Linked DNA regions of Homo sapiens: all the other regions are linked to region 1. The links are contacts of gene promoters, found by promoter capture Hi-C in human tissues and cell types (Jung and others, 2019). All regions are on one chromosome and are shown on one strand. The core of a region is centred on a gene start or on the middle of the fragment in contact, and the rest is flanking DNA. Distances in the headings are between cores, read along the strand shown.

Region 1 (2,678 bases), core at 68-2,567:
ATACTAAGTTTTAAAAAATCTATAATATGTCATTTTTGTACATTATATTTTGGAAATGTACAAAATATTAGGAAAAGTGGTAATTTTGGCAAATGTAGGAGGCAGTACATCTTACAGTTAAAGAGGTCAAGAGAGCAACCACTTCGCAGTCAGAGAAACCAAGCCTCACCCCAGTTCCAATACCTCTTCAATGTGTCATCTTAGGAAAGTTACTCAATCACTATTGAGCCCCGTGACATCTCACATGTGAGGTACAGTGTTAAGCAGCATTTTATGGGCATTATTTACTAAAATTGTTATAAGATCCAAGTTATCATTCCCATCTCAAAGATGAAGAAACCAGGACTCAAAGCAATAAAGTGACCTGCTCAGTGCTGTGAAGCTAAGAAGTGGTGGGGCCCAGGAATGACTGATCAGCAGGACCCCGGGACCCCGCAAAGGCCTCTTGATGTCACTAAACCCAGCAAAAAACATCTAGTTCCAAAACGGGTCATTTTTCAGTGCTCCATTGTCTCCCTGAGTTTCCTCACCTGTAAAACGGGTGTAAGTGCTCAGAATCCCTATAAGAACCAAATGAGGTTGTAACATTTCCCACAATGCCTGGAATGTAGGAATTATTCTGCATCCCTAAGTTGCCACTTAAGAGATAAAAGAAATCAGCAAAAGGCTTTCAAAAATAAATGGTCCTTTGAAGTATGAAAATTCAAATCCAGGAAACTCACCAAGCATGGCCAAGGTGCGCATGATCATATACAGTTGGTCCACAGCTATACCTGGAAACAAAGTTAAAATCCATCGTGTGGAACATATTTGCAAGAAAGGACATTCGATTCTGAGTTATAATGATCATATAATTTTTAAAGTAATCACTTCTGGGGGATGAATAGCCGGGGTTTTCATACTTGCTCAATTCACACCCAAACCTGCAAAAGCACCGCGCACCCCCAGCTTCTAGAACGGCGCCCTCCATGCAGCTTCCTAAACGCCCTCCCCGAGCCCAGATCCCGTTCAGCCGTGGGAAGTCTCCGCCACGATCGGCCCCCGCCCGTGCCCCAGTCCCGCGCGGCCCACCAGGAGGCGGCTTCGGCGTGCGCCACGATTAGGGGTTCCTTCCTCCCGGTGAGGCTGTTGTACACCTGCACACCCGTCTCCCGGCCCGTGGGCTGCAGCCAGGCCCGCCCGCGCCCCCCGCTCGCCGCCCGGCCCGCAGGCCAGTGCCACCCAGCCCGCCCAAGGCCCAGCGCGGCCTGGAGCAGCGGGGGGCCCAGGCCTGGGCCGCGCGTAGTCCTCAACATGTCAGCGGCCAGCGCCTACGACTGGGCGGAGACGGGAGCCACGCCGGGTACGCTGCCGGTCGCTCAAGAGCAGCACGGCCCCGCCCCGCCCCGCCCACGCCCTTGGGGCCACGCCCACTCCCGGAAGCAGTCCTCAGGTAGCGCCTCCCTTTGGCCTGGCTCGAGTCGCCCGCGGCAAGGGTGGAGAACCAGGGCCCGAAGAGGTTGGGGCGGGGAAGGCCCGGGGTGGAGGGAGGAGGGCGGTGCCGCGCCGGGAGGCCGTGGGAAGAGGCGGTACCGTGCCGATCTCCTCTCCTTATTAGCCCAGGTCCTGCGAGGCGTCCGTGTGCGCGCGGTACCAGCCTGGAGCTGTGTCCGCCGCGCGGGAGGAGCGTTTACAGTGCAAGCTTCTGTTGCCGGGCCCTGGCCTGTTAGCGAAGCACGTGTGCATCCCAGCACAGCCCACGTCAGCACGCTAATACACAGTGTCCACCCCAGAACACACGTCAGCACCCCAATACAGTGTGCACCCCAATACAGTGTGCACCCCAAACACACATCTGCGCCCCAATACAGTGTGCACTGCAGCACACCGTTAGCATCCCAACACAGTGCACCCCGATACACAATGTGCAACCCAACACACAGTCTGCACCCCAAGAAGTGTGCACCCCAATACACAGTATGCACCCCAGCACACACATCAGCATCCCAATACAGTGTGCACCCCAATACAGTGTGCACCCCAGCACACACATCTGCACCCCAATAGTGTGCACTGCAGCACACCATCAGCATCCCAACACAGTGCACCCCGATACACAGTGTGCAACCCAGCATACAGTCTGCACCCCAATACACAGTATGCACCCTAGCACACACCACATCAGCATCCCAATACAGTGTGCACTCCAATACAGTGTGCACCCCAGCACACACCATGTCTGCACCCCAGTACAGTGTACACCCCAATACAGTGTGCACCCCTAATACACTGTGCACTCTAACACACACCATGTCTGCACCCCAGTACAGTGTGCACCCCAACACAGCACATGTGCATCCCAGCAAACACTGTCTGCATTCCAATGCAATGTGCACCTCAATAGAGTGTGCGCCCCCACACATCTACACCCCAATACAGTGTGCACCCCAATACACAGTGTGCAACCCAACACACACCATGTCTGCACTCCAATACACAGCATGCCTCCCCCACCATGATCCCGTATCTTGAGAACAAAAACATTCTGAAAGTTACTCACAATAGCTTGACAAACGTGCCTCTATTGGGCCAGGCGCAGTGGCTCACACCTGTAATCCCAGCACTTTGGGAGGCTGAGGCGGATGGATCACCTGAGGTCAGGAGTTCGAGACCAGCCTGACCAATATGGTGAAACCCCG
Region 2 (2,678 bases), core at 109-2,608, 240 kb after region 1:
GGTGTTTTGGGAGAGATTCGCATTTGAGTGTGTAGCTTGATTGTAGCAGACGGGGCTCCCTAGATGGGTGGTGGGTGTCCTCCAACTCTGAAAGCCTGAACAGGACAGAGGCTGGCTCTGCTCTGAATACACGGAACTCCTCCTGCCTGCCTGCAGCTGGGACATGGGCTGTTTCCTGCCTTAAGACTGGAACTGAAACATTAGCTCTTCCTGAGTCTCCAGCTTGTAGACTCTGCAGGTCTTGGGACTTGTCAGCCTCCATAATCACATGAGCCAATTCCATATTATAAATATCTCACACACACGCACATACACACACGCATATATTCACACACACAAATACACATGCACACACACACCACACATACACTCACGCACACACATCCACACACACGCACACACACATGCACACGCACACACACATGCACACGCACACATACACGCACATCCTATTAGTTTCCCTAGAGAACGCTGACAAATACGCAGGCTCTGAGGTTATGTTTCTTCAAAGCTTATGCTATCAGACAATAGCAAGCTTCGAATGCTGTTATTTTCCAGAGTTAATTAGGTTTTCATCTCTTTTTATTAAGGAAAAAAACCATGTTGCCTCTAACTTAATATTTAAATATGTTTATTTTGTTTGTCATCCTTAGAATAAGACAGTTTTCCTTTATACAGAATGTTCCATAATTCGGCGTCTGCCCCAAGGGTGGGAGTGAGTGGAGAGTGCAGGCTCTGCCGGCGGCCCTAGTCCTAGCCTGGCGTGGCGTCCGCCTGTAGTAACTGGCTCTCAGTACACTTTCATGCAGCTTTCTCTTCTGCTTTAGATGATCTCCTGTTGGAAAGAACAGAGTTTCTTGAGAAACTGGGTGTTTCATTAACTGTTCTTAGAGCCTATGTTTCAGACCCACCGTGGCTCACTCCACCAATAAGCATGGGCTGTGAGGCTGACGGGTGTGGCTGGTAGCATTAGACTCCCCTTCTTTGAGTGTCCACGCCCCACACAGATGCCTTCTTAGGGCTGCACAGGGTGGCCTTCCCCAGGTGCAGGGGGTGAGTACCAAGCGCTCCCTGTGTGCCGGGCCCTGCACTCAACCCTCTGCAGACAGCATCTCCTTCCATCTCCTCAACACCCAGTACAGGTGCTGTGATTATCCCACTTTGAAGATGAAGAAGGCTTAGGATGCGCGGTCATTTGCCCAAGGTCTTCCCAAGGTCACACAGCTCATAGGGGCCAAGTTGGGATTGGAACCCAGGTCAGACCGGCTCCAAGCCTGTGCTCCAGCCCCACCCAGCCCCCAACAGAGCCTGATCCTCTGGCTCTATGAGTGGGTGTGGGGCTCAGGGAGCAGAATTCTTGCTTTCAGTTTCCCAGGAAGGCGCTGGGTGACTGGAAGGAGAGACAGGGAGAGGCACCTTGAATGGAATGAGGCCGGTTGGTCATCTGAGTGGGAGGTGCTGGGATGGCCCCTGGGGGTGCTCCGGGTGTGCTAGGATTCAAGAGGCCCAGAGAGGGCCAGGCTGGCATGGGCATGGGGGTGGGGGCTCAGATGAGCCTGGCAGCGTGCAGTGTGAGGGGAGATGGGCACCAGCAGGATTGGGGGGACACCAGGGGACAGGAGGAACTGAGCCCTCAGTTGTGGAGGGAGGGGAGAGCCCTGTGGATGTGTCCGGGGCAGGAGGACGGAGGGGGCGCTGGCTGCGTCAGGCTGCCTTTGGCTCTCCTGTGGGGCCACCCTGTCCAGTGTCATTTCCCCTGCATTCTCCCTCAAAACCCATTGACAACTCCAAGCTTGGCGGAGCTGGGCTGGTCCTCCTCCTCCTCCCCTCACAGCGGCCGGCTGTGGATCTCATTCCTGGGATGTCAGTACCAGGAGGTTGGGGACTCCTGGTTCTTCACTGTCCAACATTGCCAGGGCTCTGGAAGTCCCCACTGTCACCTCCGGGGCTTCTGTTGCCGACGGCCACACCTAGAGGTGCTGGTGACGTACAGGAGCTTCATCAGTGCAGAGGCCCCTGTCTTTTGCTGTTAGAGTTATAGGAGAATTTGTGGTTCTCCCTGCAGAACAGTCAAGTCCCAGGGAACTGGAATCTTGACAAGGTCAATCATGAAATTGTATCTAAAGCAGCAGAGGTTGTCCTGGACAGCAGCACAATCTGGGAAATTGGCTGTAGCTTGAACGACCGCTCACTGCCCTTTCTACACCGCGTGTGTTGGCCTGGTCCCTGCTGCTGGGGCACGAGCAGACCTTGTGGCCTGGGGTTTTGTGGTCCTGGGACTGACACTGGCCTGGCAAAGTCTGAACATGGGGGGCTAGGGGCCCCACTTCAGAGAAGCTCCTGGCCTGTGCTCGATGACAACTGGTGTAGCAGGGAGGTCTCCAGCGACGCTTCCCGGGACCGTCCTCTTCGGCATTTTAACAAAGGACGAGCTGGCCGGCTTCCCACGCTTGTGGACAGTGAGGGGCTGGGAGCAGCAGCCGACAGGCTGGATGGAAAAGTCAGAACCCCAATGCTTTAAGAGGGGACAGGGAGGCCCACCTAACTGTTCTCTAGCAGGTAAGCTCCCAGGCAGGGCTCTCTGTTTTATGTAGAAACCCCAGAGCCTAGGACAGTGCCTGGCACGTGGTGGGTGCTTGGGAAGCACCAGTGGAGGTGAGTGAAGGTGACAGGGTCTC
Region 3 (2,678 bases), core at 81-2,580, 220 kb before region 1:
TAGGGGAGAATTAGGGCATGGCTGCCAGCGGCTCCAGGGTTTCATTTTCTGGGATAAAGTGTTCTCAAGTTAGACGGTGCTGCTTGCTCACAGCTCTGTGAGTACACTAAAGTTATGTAATTGTTCTGTTTACTGGAGCGAGTTGTAGGGTATATAAATTATACATCAATAAGCTGTTTTGGAAAACCTTAATTACTCTTCAGACTTACAGCTTTTACAAATTTTCAGCAAAATAAAAATTGCAATCTAGGGTGCTCATTTTTTTTAAGATTTTTACTCACACTTGTGCTTTCAAATAGTCTTCCTGTTAGCAGAGATTTCAGGCTATTTCAGGCAAAAAAAAAAAATGACATTTTAAGATTAAGTAATTTTCAGCTCCATGGTAATTATTTCCTCGAGCCTCCTTAGGGTGAAGTTAACCATGGGGGTGTCTGTCCCTCCACTGGTGGGCACGCTCTGTGGGGTCAGGACCAATTTATGATTTTGATCCCATCAGCCTCTAGCCTAGTACTGAATACACAGTAAATGCTTAGAGACTGAAGCTCAATTATTTTCACTGAGCCAGATTTCACTTACTCCTCCAGTGAGCATGGATTCCGGGGCATCCCCAGCCTGAACTAGCACAGTTTCCCGCCCGGCCCGCAGCTCTGGGCCCCTCCCCTCCTGCAATTTCTCAGCTCCTCAGAACCCCCCGGAGACCTCCCTTCCATGCTTCTCCTCCCTGTGAAGGTGCCTACAGGAGGGCACGGAGCTGGCGCCTGCCTCACGGGCCTTCCTGCTTGTGACCGAGGTCCATCATGGTCTCATCAGAGCACACACAACAAAATGACCTTCTCACAAAGCATCCTATGGGAGTCACACTGGCTTTGACCGCTCCCTCTGCATCTGCTGGCAGGCACGTCCCCCTACTGTGGTGCTGTGTGCTCAGTGACACCAGCCCCAGGCCCAGGACCCTGGAGCCACCCCCAACTCCAACTACTCCGATGGACACAGGAGAGGCTTCTCCGGCGCCCTTGGTCTCTCTCCAAGGCTTCCCTGCTTGGGGGAGACGTGCAGCCCTATGGCTCAGGGACCAGGCCTTCACCTGTGTTCTCCTGCGTGGTCTGGAGCCCCCAGAAAATGACAGCACTCTATTCCCTTCCAGGCAGCCGAGGGGACCCTGGGCCCCCAGGACCACCTCCTGTCATCCTGCCAGGAATGAAAGACATTAAAGGAGAGAAAGGAGATGAAGGGCCTATGGGGCTGAAAGGATACCTGGGCGCAAAAGGTGAGGCTTCTGACCTGCAGCCAGGGGCCCCTAGTCCCTGCCGCCCCAGCCCGCACCAGCTCGTGCCCTTCTCCGTCCCCAGAGACGCCCGTGCCCTCCACCTGGCTTTCTTCGTGCTTTTCATCTCTGGGCGCCCTGTGTGTCCATAGCTGGCGCAGGGTTGTTCTCTGATGCCTGAGTAACCTCGGTTTCCCATCTTAAGATTTGCAGCACTGGCCGGGCGCGGTGGCTCACGCCTGTAATCCCAGCACTTTGGGAGGCCGAGGCGGGTGGATCACAAGGTGAGGAGATCAAGACCATCCTGGCTAACACGGTGAAACCCCGTCTCTACTAAAAATACAAAAAAATTAGCCGGCATGGTGGTGGGCGCCTGTAGTCCCAACTACTTAGGAGGCTGAGGCAGGAGAATGGCGTGAACCGGGGAGGCAGAGCTTGTAGTGAGCCGAGATTGCGCCACTGCACTCCAGCCTGGGCGACAGAGCGAGACTCCGTCTCAAAAAAAAAAAAAAAAAAAAAAAAGATTCACAGCACGTAGGACAGCAAAATGCATCCAGGCTGCAAAATTGAAAACTGGAGGGCGGGTGCTGCGTCCTCACCAGAGTGTTACACACCAGGGTCTTCCTGCAGGTATCCAAGGAATGCCAGGCATCCCAGGGCTGTCAGGAATCCCTGGGCTGCCTGGGAGGCCCGGCCACATCAAAGGAGTCAAGGGAGACATCGGAGTCCCCGGCATCCCCGGTTTGCCAGGATTCCCTGGGGTGGCTGGCCCCCCTGGAATTACGGGATTCCCAGGATTCATAGGAAGCCGGGTGAGTGGGCGTCTTTTACTCCCCTTGTTCTGTGAGCTCCTCTCCCCTTTGCTTGTGAATGGACATGCTTTGGTCTGGAATTTGCTAGGGTGAGAGTGTCAGTGGCAGGTTCAGGGCAGCCTCAGGCTTGGTGGGGTCCACACAGCCCTGGAAGGAGCTGCTGCACTTGGACACCATGCAGATGTGATGTGAGTCCAACCGGCTGCCGTGGCCCTTCTGTGGGCTTGTGCTGGGTGAAGCATGTTGTCTGCATTTTTCATGGTGGCCTTGAGAGAACAAAACTTGAATTTTCAGGGATCAGAGCTCTAAAATTGAGCACATCAGTGACACCAGGCCTGAGAGCCCATGGCCGAATCACAGCGTAGACCTGGGCCCGGCAGCCTGGCTTCCCATCCGGGCCACCGTTCACTCAGCCTTTGTTCAGCGGATGTCTGTTGAGCACTTGACATGGGCCAGACACGCTGTTGTGATGGTAACAATGGTGAGCCCTGACCCTGGGCAGGGCTCTCTTCTCCACACCTTCTCCCTCAGCTGCAGAATGAAGGTAGTAGCTACCTTGCAGTTTTCTTGAGTGCTGTATAGACAGTGTGTATAACATAGCA
Region 4 (2,678 bases), core at 63-2,562, 190 kb before region 1:
GGGGTCATTTCCACATACTCGAGAGTCCCTGCACCTGAGGGGTATTTCACAATTTCATTGTACAAGCCCATTTTAATTAACTAGGTTCTTCTCAGAGGCCAGGAACACTTAGAGATGAGAGGCTGCAGCTGCAAAGCCACATGGGATGGGGCAGGAGGGGACTGCTGTCTTCCCGAGTTTAAAATACACCCAGGAGCCCTCTTCCCCCACCCCACCTGCAGATTCACACTTGAGAGGACCTTGCCACATGCAAGGGTGACTCAGGGACCTTCTCCTCGCATTTATGGCCAAAGTACAAGAACAAAGGGCAGATGGGGTGGAGGCCACTTAGAAGATGTGGGTCCTGTGACGGCATAAACCAGCCCTAAAGCTGGAGCCATTCCTGCAGAGGCCATTTCATCCCACATGGGACAGGACCCCGCTTCTCCTCTGGGTGGGACCCATTCTTTTGCCTTGAGCTGGCTTATTCTTAACTGTACACTCACAAACATAATCCATTTTATCTGCAGGATTCCTGGGAAAGGAATTCTTGCATTCAGATTATGAGGACTCTGTCCAGGGGGCTCTCACACCTCCCTCAAAGCAGAGAGAGCTCGCCCCTGGCCATGGGAGCCGCCCGCCACACAGGGGCTGGTGAATGAGGTCGCCACGCAGTGAGGCTGAGGGAGGGGGTTTGGAAGTGCTACTGGGGATGACAGTGGCCAGTCCCAGGCCTGCCACCTTCAGACCAAGAGCAGGCACGAGCCAACCCTGGTTACTTAACTGAGACCAGCTCCCAAGAGACAGCATTCCAGGCCCCCATGCCTTCTCCCGGTGGGAAAATCTGGATGGAGGATAAAAAAAGGGGCTGAGGCTTGTCCTGGATCCGTGGGTATCCACCATTTGCAGCCCGAACAACCAAGCCCACCTTTAGGGGAGGAAACACATGGCAGCAACTGGAACGTGGCATTGAAAGTCCGAGGCTCAGATTCCCAAGCCGCCATGCCCCAGGCAGGACCTTCCACAATGACATCCCAAGAAAACAGCCAACGTAGACTGAGCTGGGAGGGCCTGGTGAGGAAGTGGGTGGGGCTGGGAGCCAAGGCCTGGGCGTGTCTCACTCCGGCCACTGACACCCTGACCCAGGAGGCACCTTCTCGGGCCTTGGGTCCACATATCCTCCAGCAAGGTGCCCTCCAGATCCGATACCTGAGGGCTGGGCCAGTGGCTTCAAGGCAAACACAAAGTGAAGGGGAGGGACACAGAGCTTCATAACCACGCAAGGACGCTTGCTCTGAAGGCGTCAGCTCTCCCTGAAGGAGGCAGCCTGGACCACAAGGGAGGACTGGGCCCAAGAGCTTCCAGAGCAGGCACAGAGGAGGCTGAGTGCAGGCGGCACATGTATGTGCAGGGTCTCTGCTGTGCGTGCAGGGTCTTGGCTATGCATGCAGGGTCTCGGCTGTGCACACGTGCAGGGTCTCGGCTGTGCGTGCGTGCAGGGTCTCAGCTGTGCGTGCATGCAGGGTCTCAGCTGTGTGAGCAGGGTCTCAGCTGTGCGTGTGTGCAGGGTCTCGACTGTGTATGCAGGGTCTCAGCTGTGTGAGCAGGGTCTCAGCTGTGCATGTGTGCAGGGTCTCTGCTGTGCGTGCAGGGTCTCTGCTGTGCGTGCAGGGTCTTGGCTATGCATGCAGGGTCTCGGCTGTGCGCACGTGCAGGGTCTCAGCTGTGCGTGCATGCAGGGTCTCAGCTGTGTGAGCAAGGTCTCAGCTGTGCGTGTGTGCAGGGTCTCAGCTGTGTGAGCAGGGTCTCAGCTGTGCGTCCACCCACCACACCCATCCTCTCTGTCCTGTTTCGACAATGAGGCTCGAAAGATCCAGCTCTGTGAAGTGGGAGGATGGAAGACCCCTGCACACTGTGGAGAAGAGTCTGTGCTTCTAATAAGGGCATGTAAGAGGACGAGGGCACCGGCCACTCTGCCTGGCCACAGAAGGGAAGATACGACCTGGACTCCACCAACCAGGGCTGGGAGGATCTGTGCCTTTGAAATCCTCCAAACACCTGGAGGCCACACCACGGCACTCCCACCAGGGTCTCTGGGGCCCGGGTCCCACTCTTCTTCCTTCTTCAGAGGTTTGTGGTCATTGCTCAGGAGGGACTCAGCCTGGTTAGAGTCTCCCAGGAGCACGGAGTGAAGGCCGAGCTCAGAGCCATTGCCCCTTCTCTCTGGAAGACAGGCACCATCTCCATGTCTCATGGGGTCTGTCTCATGGGCCTTGAGCAGCAGCTCACCTCTGCCGGAGGGATCCATGTGCTGGGAGCACCCGTGTGCTATGGGGATCCGTGTGCTAGGGGGACCCGTGTGCTGGAGGGACCCGTATACTAGGGAGATCTGTGTGCTGGGGGAGGGGGAACCCGTGTGCTGGTGGTATCCGTGTGCTGGGGGGATCCGTGTGCTGGGGGGGAGCCGTGTGCTGGAGGGACCTGTGTGCTGGAGGGACCTACGTGCTGGGGGGATCCATGTACTGGGGAGACCCGTGTGCTGGGGAGATCCGTGTGCTGGGGAGGGAAGCCGTGTGCCGGGGAGGGAACCCGTGTGCTGGGGAGAACCTGTGTGCTGGGGGGACCTATGTGCTGGGGGGATCCATGTGCTGGTGGTATCCATGTACTGGGGGAATCCACGTGCTGGGGAGAGAACCCGT
Region 5 (2,678 bases), core at 116-2,615, 160 kb before region 1:
AGGCGGAGTGTCCAGCCACACACACACACACACACACACACTCTCACATACATGCACGTACATGCCATGCACACATACACATACTCACAGTTGCATTTCTTTCTCCCCACTGTGTCCACATTTCACACATCTGGAATCAGAGACCCCAGATGCTCACACACGGAGACAGTAACCAGTGGCCACCATCAGCAGGAACGGGGTGCAAACAGCCTGGGGAAGGAACTGCCAAATAATAAGGGTGTTTGTTGGTTTTGTTTTTGTTTTGTTTTGTTTTAATTTTATTATTATTATACTTTAAGTTTTAGGGTACATGTGCACAACATGCAGGATGACGAGTTTTGTTTTGTTTTTAATCAGAACGCTTGCTGTATTTTATTCTCAGCTTTACTGGGGTATAAATGACAAGCAAAATTTGTAAATATTTCAGATGTACAACATGATATTTTGATGTATCATGAAATGATTACCCTATTAAGCTAATTAACACATCTATCACTGCACATAGCTACCATGGGTGTGCAGACAGAACATTGAAACTCCACCCTCTCAGCCAATTTCAAGCCTATCACATGGTACTGGTTAACTACAGTCACCTGCCTGGGGCTCTACATTAGACCTCCAGAACTTATTCAGCCTGCAGAACTGAACCTTCGTAGCCTTTGATTAAAAACTCCCCAATTCCCTCTCCCCACCCACCTGCCAGCTCCTTGTAACCACCATTCCACTCTGCTTCAGTGAGTTCAACTTGTTCAGATGCCAGGCATCAGTGAGACTATGTGGTATTTGTCTTTCGGTATCTGGTTTATTTCACTTACCATGATGTCCTCCGGGTTCACAAACAACAGGATTTCTCCCTTTTCCAAGCTTGGATAATACTCCACGGTGTATATTTACCACATTTTCTTGATCCGTGCACATCAGTGGAAGCTTAGGTTGATTCTGTATCTTGGCTACTGTGAACACGGGAGTGCAGACATCTCTGAGAAATACTGATTTCCTTTCTTCTAGACAGATACCCAGCAGTGGGACTGCTGGATCATTTGTTCTAGTTTTAATTTTTTGAGGAACCATCATGTCTTCCACCGCGGCCATACCCGTTCACATTCCCACCAGCAATGTGCGGGGTTCTCTTGTCTCCACATCCTCACCAGCACTTACCCTTTGTCTTTCTGATGACAGCCATTCTAACAGGTGCGACCTGACAGCTCACTGTACTGCTAACTTGGCTGTCTCTGCAATTAGTCATATTGAACATTTTTTCATATACCTGTTGGCCATTTGTATGTCTTCTTTTGAGAAATGTCTATTCAGTTCAGGACCTTTGCTCATTTTATTTTTTTTTATTTTTATTTTAGAGACAAAGTCTCACTCTGTCACCCAGGCTAGAGTGCGGTGGTGTGATCTTGGCTCACTGTAACCTCAAACTCAAGCGATCCTCCTGCCTCAGCCTCCCACGTAGGTGGGACTACAGATGTGCACCACCTCCCCTGGCTAATTTTTCTTATTTTTTTGTAGAGACAGGGTCTCACTATGTTGCCCAGCCTGTTCTTGAACTTCTGGCCTCAAGTGATCCTCTGACACCTCGGCCTCCCAAAGTGCTGGGATTATAGGTGAGAGCCACGGCACCTGGCCCTTTGCTCATTGTTTAATCTGGTTGTTTTCTTGTTACTCAGTTGTTTGAGTTCCTTATATATTTTGGATATTAATCCCTTATCAGCTGTATGCTTTCCAAATATCTCCTCCCATTCTGGATGTTCTCTCTTTATTCTGTTGGTTGTTTCTTCTGTTCTGCAGAAGCTTTTTGGTTTGATGCAATCCCATTTGTCTATTTTTGCTTTTGTTCTCTGTGCTTTCTGGAGTCACATAAAAAAGAATCATTAGCCAGACCAATACTGCAAAGCTTTTTTCTTATGTTTTCTTCTAATAGTTATAGTTTCAGGTCTTATGCTTGACTCTTTAATCAAATGTGGGTTATTTTTTTTTTTTTTTTTTTGAGACGGAGTCTCACTCTGTCACCCAGGCTGGAGTACAGTGGTGCGATCTCGGCTCACTGCAACCTCTGCCTCCCAGGTTCAACTGATTCTCCTGCCTTGGCCTCCTGAGTAGCAGGATTACAGGCACCTGCCACCACACCCGGCCAATTTTTGTATTTTTAGTAGAGATGTGGTTTCACCTTGTTGGCCAGGCTGGTCTCAAACTCCTCCTGACTTAAGCGATCCACCCACGTCAGCCTCCCAAAATGCTGGGATTACAGGCACCCAGCCTGATTTTTGTATATGGTGTGAGACAAGGGTCTGGTTTCGTTGTGCATATGGATATCCAGTTTCCCTGGTACCATTTATTGAAGAGGCTGTCCTTTCCCCCAAAGGTTCTTGGCATCTTTGTCAAAGATCAACTAACAGTAAACGTGTGGATTTGTTTCTGGGCACTCTACCCTGTTCCATTGGTCAATGTGTCTGTTTTCATGCTGAGGTCATGCTGTTTTGATTACTATAGCTTTGTAGCATATTTTGAAGTCAGGCAGTGTGATGCTTCCAGCTTTATTATTGCTCAAAATTGAGCAAGAATTTTGCTGGCTATTTTGGGTCTTCTGTGGTTCCACATAAATTTTAGAATTTTTTTCTATTTCTGTAAAAAATGCCATTGGAATTATGATAGTGATTGCATTGAATCTATGA
Region 6 (2,678 bases), core at 81-2,580, 150 kb after region 1:
ACCCAAATCTCATCTTGAATTCCCACATGTTGTGGGAGGGACCTGATGGGAAGTAATTGAATCATGGGGGCAGGTCTTTCCTGTGCTGTTCTCATGATAGTGAATGAGTCTCATGAGATATGATGGCTTTATAAGGCGGAGTTTCCTTGCACAAGTTCTGGCTCTTTGCCTGCTGCCATCCATGTAAGATGTGACTTGCTCCTCCTTGCCTTCCACCGTGATTGTAAGGCTTCCCCAGCCATATGGAACGGTAAGTCCAATTAAAACTCTTCCTTTTGTAAATTGCCCAGTCTTAGGTAGGTTGTTATCAGCAGTGTGAAAACCTGCTTTTTTCTGTCACCACATGCTTTTCTCTGGTCAGACCACACTCAGGAAATGGTGTTTTCTGTGAGGAGGTCAGACACATGGGGTGCTTGTGCAGGGGGAAGAGATCAGATGGTGAAGAAATGGAGCCTGTGAAACCTAAGAAACCATTGAAAAGGCAGATGACATTTAGCCTATGTTGGGGGAACACTACAGCATATCCTAACCTTTCCTGTACTTGTCTTTATGAAAATGGAACTGCATAAATTATTTTGTGTTAAGCTTCTTTTGCTTAACCTTATGCTTATAAGACTATATTTATTACTGGGTATAGTTGGACTTCTTCCATTTTTCTTAAAAGATAACTCCATTATAGTTCCGTATTCCATTGTATGCACATGCTACAATTTCTCTATTCATTTTACTTTTGACGGACATTGGGGCTGTTTCCAGTTTTAGGGTGTTGGGACTAATGGAACTATGAACGTTCTTGGACATGTCTGCTGTTGCAGATCTGCATATTTCTCTGTTAAATAAATGTTTAGGAGGAGAATTGCTAGGTCACAGGGAAGTGTATGTTAAATGTCAGGAAATAATGTTCAACTGTTTCCCAAAATGGCTTTACAATTTACACTCTGACCAAGGGTGTATTAGAGTTCCCATTGCTATATCCTTATCAGCATTTGATAATGTCAGTGTTTTTAATTTTAGCTGCTCTGGTGGGTGTAAAGTGATACCTTGGTGTGGTTTAATCTGCATTTCTCTCACTACTTAATGATGAAATGGATCATCCATCAATATGATTATTGGCCAACTGGATACTTCTATTTATTTGTTCATTTTTTGTGAAGTGCCTGTTCAAGCCTCTTACATATTTTATTATGGATTGTTTGTCTTTTTCTAATTGACATATGAGATTGTAATATAAACTCCTGATGCAATCTTCTTGTCAGTTACATATGTTTCTTCCATTTCCTGGCTTGCCCTTCTATTCTCTTAATATTGCATTTTGATGATCAAAAGCTCTTATTTTTTAAAAATTCAAGTTAAAAAATTTTACAAAAATTTCAAACACCATTTATAAGTATTTCAGTACATATCATGGAAAGATAAGGACTCCTAAAATACAGATCAATATTAACAATAATTTATTAATATCATTAAGTATCTAGGGTTCAAATTTCCCCACTTGTCTCACAAATGCTTTGATTTTAGTTTGTTTGAAGTGAGGTCCAGAAAAGCTCCCTGCATTGCCGTTGGCTGACACATCTCCTAAGGCTCTTTTAATATCAGTTCACCCCTATATTTTACTCATTTTCCTCAGCAATTTATTTGCTGAAGGAACTAGGTCACTTGTTCCATAAGTTACTCTAGGTTGGATCTGTGCTGTCCAAGAGCAAGTGTTTTCATCAACCCAGGACCAACCTCAAGCCCTGGACTCACACCCAGGCAGTCAGGGGACTGTCTGGTTGAGGCAGCAGAGACTCCAGGTGGGGCCTCTGTATCCCCTGCCCGCATGCTGCTTGTGCTGAGCCCAGAGCATCCCCTTCTTCTCACTACATGCTTTAAATGGGAGTAATAAAGTGAAGGGTTCATTTGTCTTCATTTGCTCTGAGGCTGTGTGTTTTGTGGCCTCTGGGATCACCTATCTGAGAGTGACCTTGAGAGCATGCTTGCATGGAGATCATTCCCCACACAACTGCCTGTAAAAATCCATTGATATTTATTTCCATTGCAATTTCAGCTACCTGAGCATCATTCAGGGAGAACTAACTTCTTTATGACATCATCTTTTCAATTCAGTATCTCCTCCATTTATTTAGTATTTATTTCTCACAATAATGCTGTTTCTGCACAGAACTATTGCATACCTTATGTTAAATATATTTGATAGTCGATGTTTTTAAAACTGGCGTTCCTGATTAAACTGAGGTTTCTGTTTGTTACTGGTGTATAGAAATACAACTAAAAAAAAAAAAAGTTGACCCTATAGCTGGGCGTTGTGGTGTGCATCTGTAGTCCCAGCTACTCCAGAGGCTGAGGTAGGAGAATTGCTTGAGCCCCGGAGGTCAAGGCTGCAGTGAGCTCTGGTCACACCATTGCACTCCAGCCTGGGTGACAGAGTGAGGCCCTATCGCAAAAAAAAAATGTTGACCCTGCACCCATAAATGATTTAAACTCACTTATTAATTCTAATTATATTTGAAGTCTTTTAAGCTTTCTACATACAAAATCATATCATCCACTAATAGAATTTTTTTTCCTACCCAATCATTTTTATTTCCTCACCTTATTGCACCAGGAAAAACCTCCAGTAAAAGGTGAACATATGTGGGTAGGTGAGCATTCTTGTTTGTTCCTAATCTCAGAACACT
Region 7 (2,678 bases), core at 101-2,600, 130 kb after region 1:
GAGAGAAGAAGGAAGGTAAAGGAGGAGGGAAAGAGGGAACATTACTTAAAGTAGAATGCCAATTAATAAATTTGGAAGGACTGACGGAGTTAGAAAATCAACATTTTGCAAACACCACGTTAATATTTAACTTGAGCAAGAATCATCAATACATACTAAAACTATTCTGCAAAGAGTAATGAGAAGCAACATATTTACATGGTGTTAACTTAAAATCACACACTTTATAAATTTAGAAAGGAGAGCCGTATTTCTTAAGAAGGGAATTACAACCTGCAAGCAGGAAGTGCAGTCTCAGGCTAAAAGAATGAAAGCAAGCACTTCTAGGGAGGGAGGGGTGGGGTAGGCTGGCCGAGTATACATATTCAACAAGATATAGAGGGGGTTATGAATATTCATGAAGGGGAGTTCTGTGCATGTATGATAAGCAAACATATATGTTCCATGTATGACATGTTCACCTGTATGTCAAAATTTGAGGCAGGGACTTAACGGCACTGAGTGTGCAGCCTCTGTAAACCAGCCAGAACCAGGCCATGGTCAGTGATCTCTGATCAGGAGAAAGTTACTGAAATCAGTCTCTTGTCCGATCAAAGCTGTAGCTATAGCTGGTGGAGTTGGGAGTCAGTCAGTCAGAGTCTGGTGGTGGGTGGGCTGCAGCTGCTTCAGCATTGCTTAACTCAAGGCCAGTGCTTGATTATCTGCTAGAGAAAAAGGAATTAAAAAAAATACCTTGTGGCGAGTAGAACATAGACTTACTCTTTAAGTGTAGGGGTGGGTGACTTAACCTTTGCCAGGCATGGCCTGAGGTCTAGTTTATAATTCGATATCTTATTGTTACAAAGAGTTCATTCAATCAGTTTTACTATCTCTATTTTAACGTTAATGCTGGTCAGTTGTGTCTGAACTGAAAAAAGAAGGGGGTGTAATGAGGCGTCTCCAATCTCCCACCTGATCATGGCTGGGAACTCAGTTTTTGAGGTTTCTCTGGGGTTCCATTGGCCAAAAAGGGGTCCGTTCAGTCAGTTGGGGGGTTTAGGATGTTATTTGTAGTTTACTGAAGGGGGCCTGCCCCTCCACACCTGTGGGTATTTCTCGCAAGGTGGAGACGAGGGACCGAAAAAAGAAATAAGACACAGAGACAAAGTACAGAGGAAGAAAAGTGGGGACTGGCGCTCAGCAAGTGAGGACCTGCACCAGCACTGGTCTCTGAGTTCCTCAGTATTTATTGATCACTATCTCTACTATCTTGATGAGGGGATGTGGCAGGACTGTAGGGTAATGGTGGGGAGAGGGTCAGCAGGACAACATGTGAGCAAAGGAGTCTGTGTCATAAATAAGTTTAAGGAACGGTGCTGTGCCTGGATGTGCACATAGGCCAGATTTATGTTTGACTTTACACAAACATTTCAGTGCAGTAAAGAGCAGTATTGCTGCCAGCATGTCTCACCTCCAGCCACAAGGCAGTTTTCTCCTATCTCAGTAAATAGAATGTATGATCGGGTTTTACACCAAGACATTCCATTCCCAGGGATGAGCAGGAGACAGATGCCTTCCTCTTATCTCAACTGCAAAGAGGCCTTCCTCTTTCACTAATCCTTCTCAGCACAGACCCTTTATGGGTGTCGGGCTGTGGGATGGTAAGATCTTTCCCTTCCCACAAGGCCATATCTCAGGCTGTCTCAGTTGGGGGAAAACTTGGACAATACCCAGGCTTTCTTGGGCACAGGTCCCTGCGACCTTCCACAGTACACTGTGTCCCTGGGTAGTCAAGAAAGGAGAATGGCGATGACTTTTACCAAGCATACTGCCTACAAACACATGTTTACCAAGGCACATCCTGCACAGCCCTAAATCCATTAAACCTGAGTCAATACAGCACCTGTTTCTGCGAGCACAGAGTTGGGGCTAGGGTCACAGATTAACAGCATCTCAAGGCAGAAGAATTTCTCTTAGTACAGATCAAAATGTAGTTTCTTATGCCTTCCTTTTTCTACGTAGACTCAGTAACAGTCTGATCTCTTTTTCTTTCCCCCACAGTTTGCAATAGTTTCAAAGTAACCCCTTCCACAGACACAAATTGTTCATTAGTTATAAATAGAACAACAGTAACTTTACAGTGGAAAAAGCTGGCGGACATCATTTTAGCCACATAATCAAAGTTAACGTCAACAGTAAGGAGAAAATCAACACCACGTGTCTTCTGACAACAACGCGCTGATGGGAGCCCAACATCATTTACACCATAAATCAAATGTTTATCCGTTGGCGATTCCAGCCAAAAATAGATAACCTGATCCAATCATGAGGGAACTTCAGACAAACCCAAACTGAAGGACATTCTACAGAATAACTGGTCTGTACTCATAACAAAGAATCAATGTCATGAGGGACCATGAAAGGCTGAGGATGTCCCACAGGTTGAAAGTGACGAAAACAAACAAAAAACAACCAGCAACCAACTACGATGCACAACCTTGGATTGGAGCCTTCTCAAAATTGCTGAAAATAACAGTGGAACAAGTGGTGAAATTTGAATATGGGCTATATGTTAGGTATTCATTTTATGTCAATGTTAAATTTTCCGACATTGATATTTGTACCAGGAAATGTAAAAGAAGGCCCAAATTTAGCGATAAATTATGCCTGCCACTCACTCTCTCCAATGATTCAGAAGA

What was found. Contacts are between HindIII fragments. The study calls those that stand out against the background at their distance.
Region 2: a fragment that was not itself captured here is called in contact with the fragment with the promoter of CARS2 in region 1 in 1 of the 25 tissues and cell types used here (lymphoblastoid cells).
Region 3: a fragment that was not itself captured here is called in contact with the fragment with the promoter of CARS2 in region 1 in 1 of the 25 tissues and cell types used here (neural progenitor cells).
Region 4: a contact is called between a fragment that was not itself captured here and the fragment with the promoter of CARS2 in region 1, in 1 of the 25 tissues and cell types used here (stomach).
Region 5: a fragment that was not itself captured here is called in contact with the fragment with the promoter of CARS2 in region 1 in 1 of the 25 tissues and cell types used here (mesenchymal stem cells).
Region 6: a contact is called between a fragment that was not itself captured here and the fragment with the promoter of CARS2 in region 1, in 2 of the 25 tissues and cell types used here (IMR-90 fibroblasts and thymus).
Region 7: a fragment that was not itself captured here is called in contact with the fragment with the promoter of CARS2 in region 1 in 3 of the 25 tissues and cell types used here (dorsolateral prefrontal cortex, heart right ventricle and mesenchymal stem cells).

The regions. Positions count from the first base shown.
Region 1 is chr13:110,704,799-110,707,476 of GRCh38, forward strand. CARS2 (cysteinyl-tRNA synthetase 2, mitochondrial) reads right to left here and starts at 1,318. Exons shown (of 15, transcript NM_024537.4): 1 at 1,072-1,318; 2 at 723-773. The coding sequence starts at 1,295. RefSeq lists a silencer at 1,126-1,685 and enhancers at 1,736-2,115, 2,126-2,245. The HindIII fragment of the contact is 14,015 bases long and covers 1-2,678 here.
Region 2 is chr13:110,944,715-110,947,392 of GRCh38, forward strand. It overlaps LOC105370364 (a long non-coding RNA gene), which reads right to left. Exons shown (of 3, transcript XR_931732.3): 3 at 742-835. Among named protein-coding and RNA genes, the nearest start is that of LINC00431, 20 kb to the right of the region's middle. The HindIII fragment of the contact is 5,736 bases long and covers 1-2,678 here.
Region 3 is chr13:110,483,761-110,486,438 of GRCh38, forward strand. It overlaps COL4A2 (collagen type IV alpha 2 chain), which reads left to right. Exons shown (of 48, transcript NM_001846.4): 33 at 1,145-1,267; 34 at 1,895-2,076. Among named protein-coding and RNA genes, the nearest start is that of COL4A2-AS2, 22 kb to the left of the region's middle. RefSeq lists enhancers at 473-1,311, 1,312-2,149, 2,150-2,678. The HindIII fragment of the contact is 6,661 bases long and covers 1-2,678 here.
Region 4 is chr13:110,517,650-110,520,327 of GRCh38, forward strand. No RefSeq gene overlaps it. Among named protein-coding and RNA genes, the nearest start is that of COL4A2-AS1, 11 kb to the left of the region's middle. RefSeq lists an enhancer at 174-1,010. The HindIII fragment of the contact is 5,926 bases long and covers 1-2,678 here.
Region 5 is chr13:110,541,801-110,544,478 of GRCh38, forward strand. All of the region lies in intron 1 of RAB20 (RAB20, member RAS oncogene family), which reads right to left. Among named protein-coding and RNA genes, the nearest start is that of RAB20, 19 kb to the right of the region's middle. The HindIII fragment of the contact is 3,610 bases long and covers 1-2,678 here.
Region 6 is chr13:110,857,220-110,859,897 of GRCh38, forward strand. No RefSeq gene overlaps it. Among named protein-coding and RNA genes, the nearest start is that of PRECSIT, 12 kb to the right of the region's middle. The HindIII fragment of the contact is 3,127 bases long and covers 1-2,678 here.
Region 7 is chr13:110,836,176-110,838,853 of GRCh38, forward strand. No RefSeq gene overlaps it. Among named protein-coding and RNA genes, the nearest start is that of LINC00567, 24 kb to the left of the region's middle. The HindIII fragment of the contact is 6,636 bases long and covers 1-2,678 here.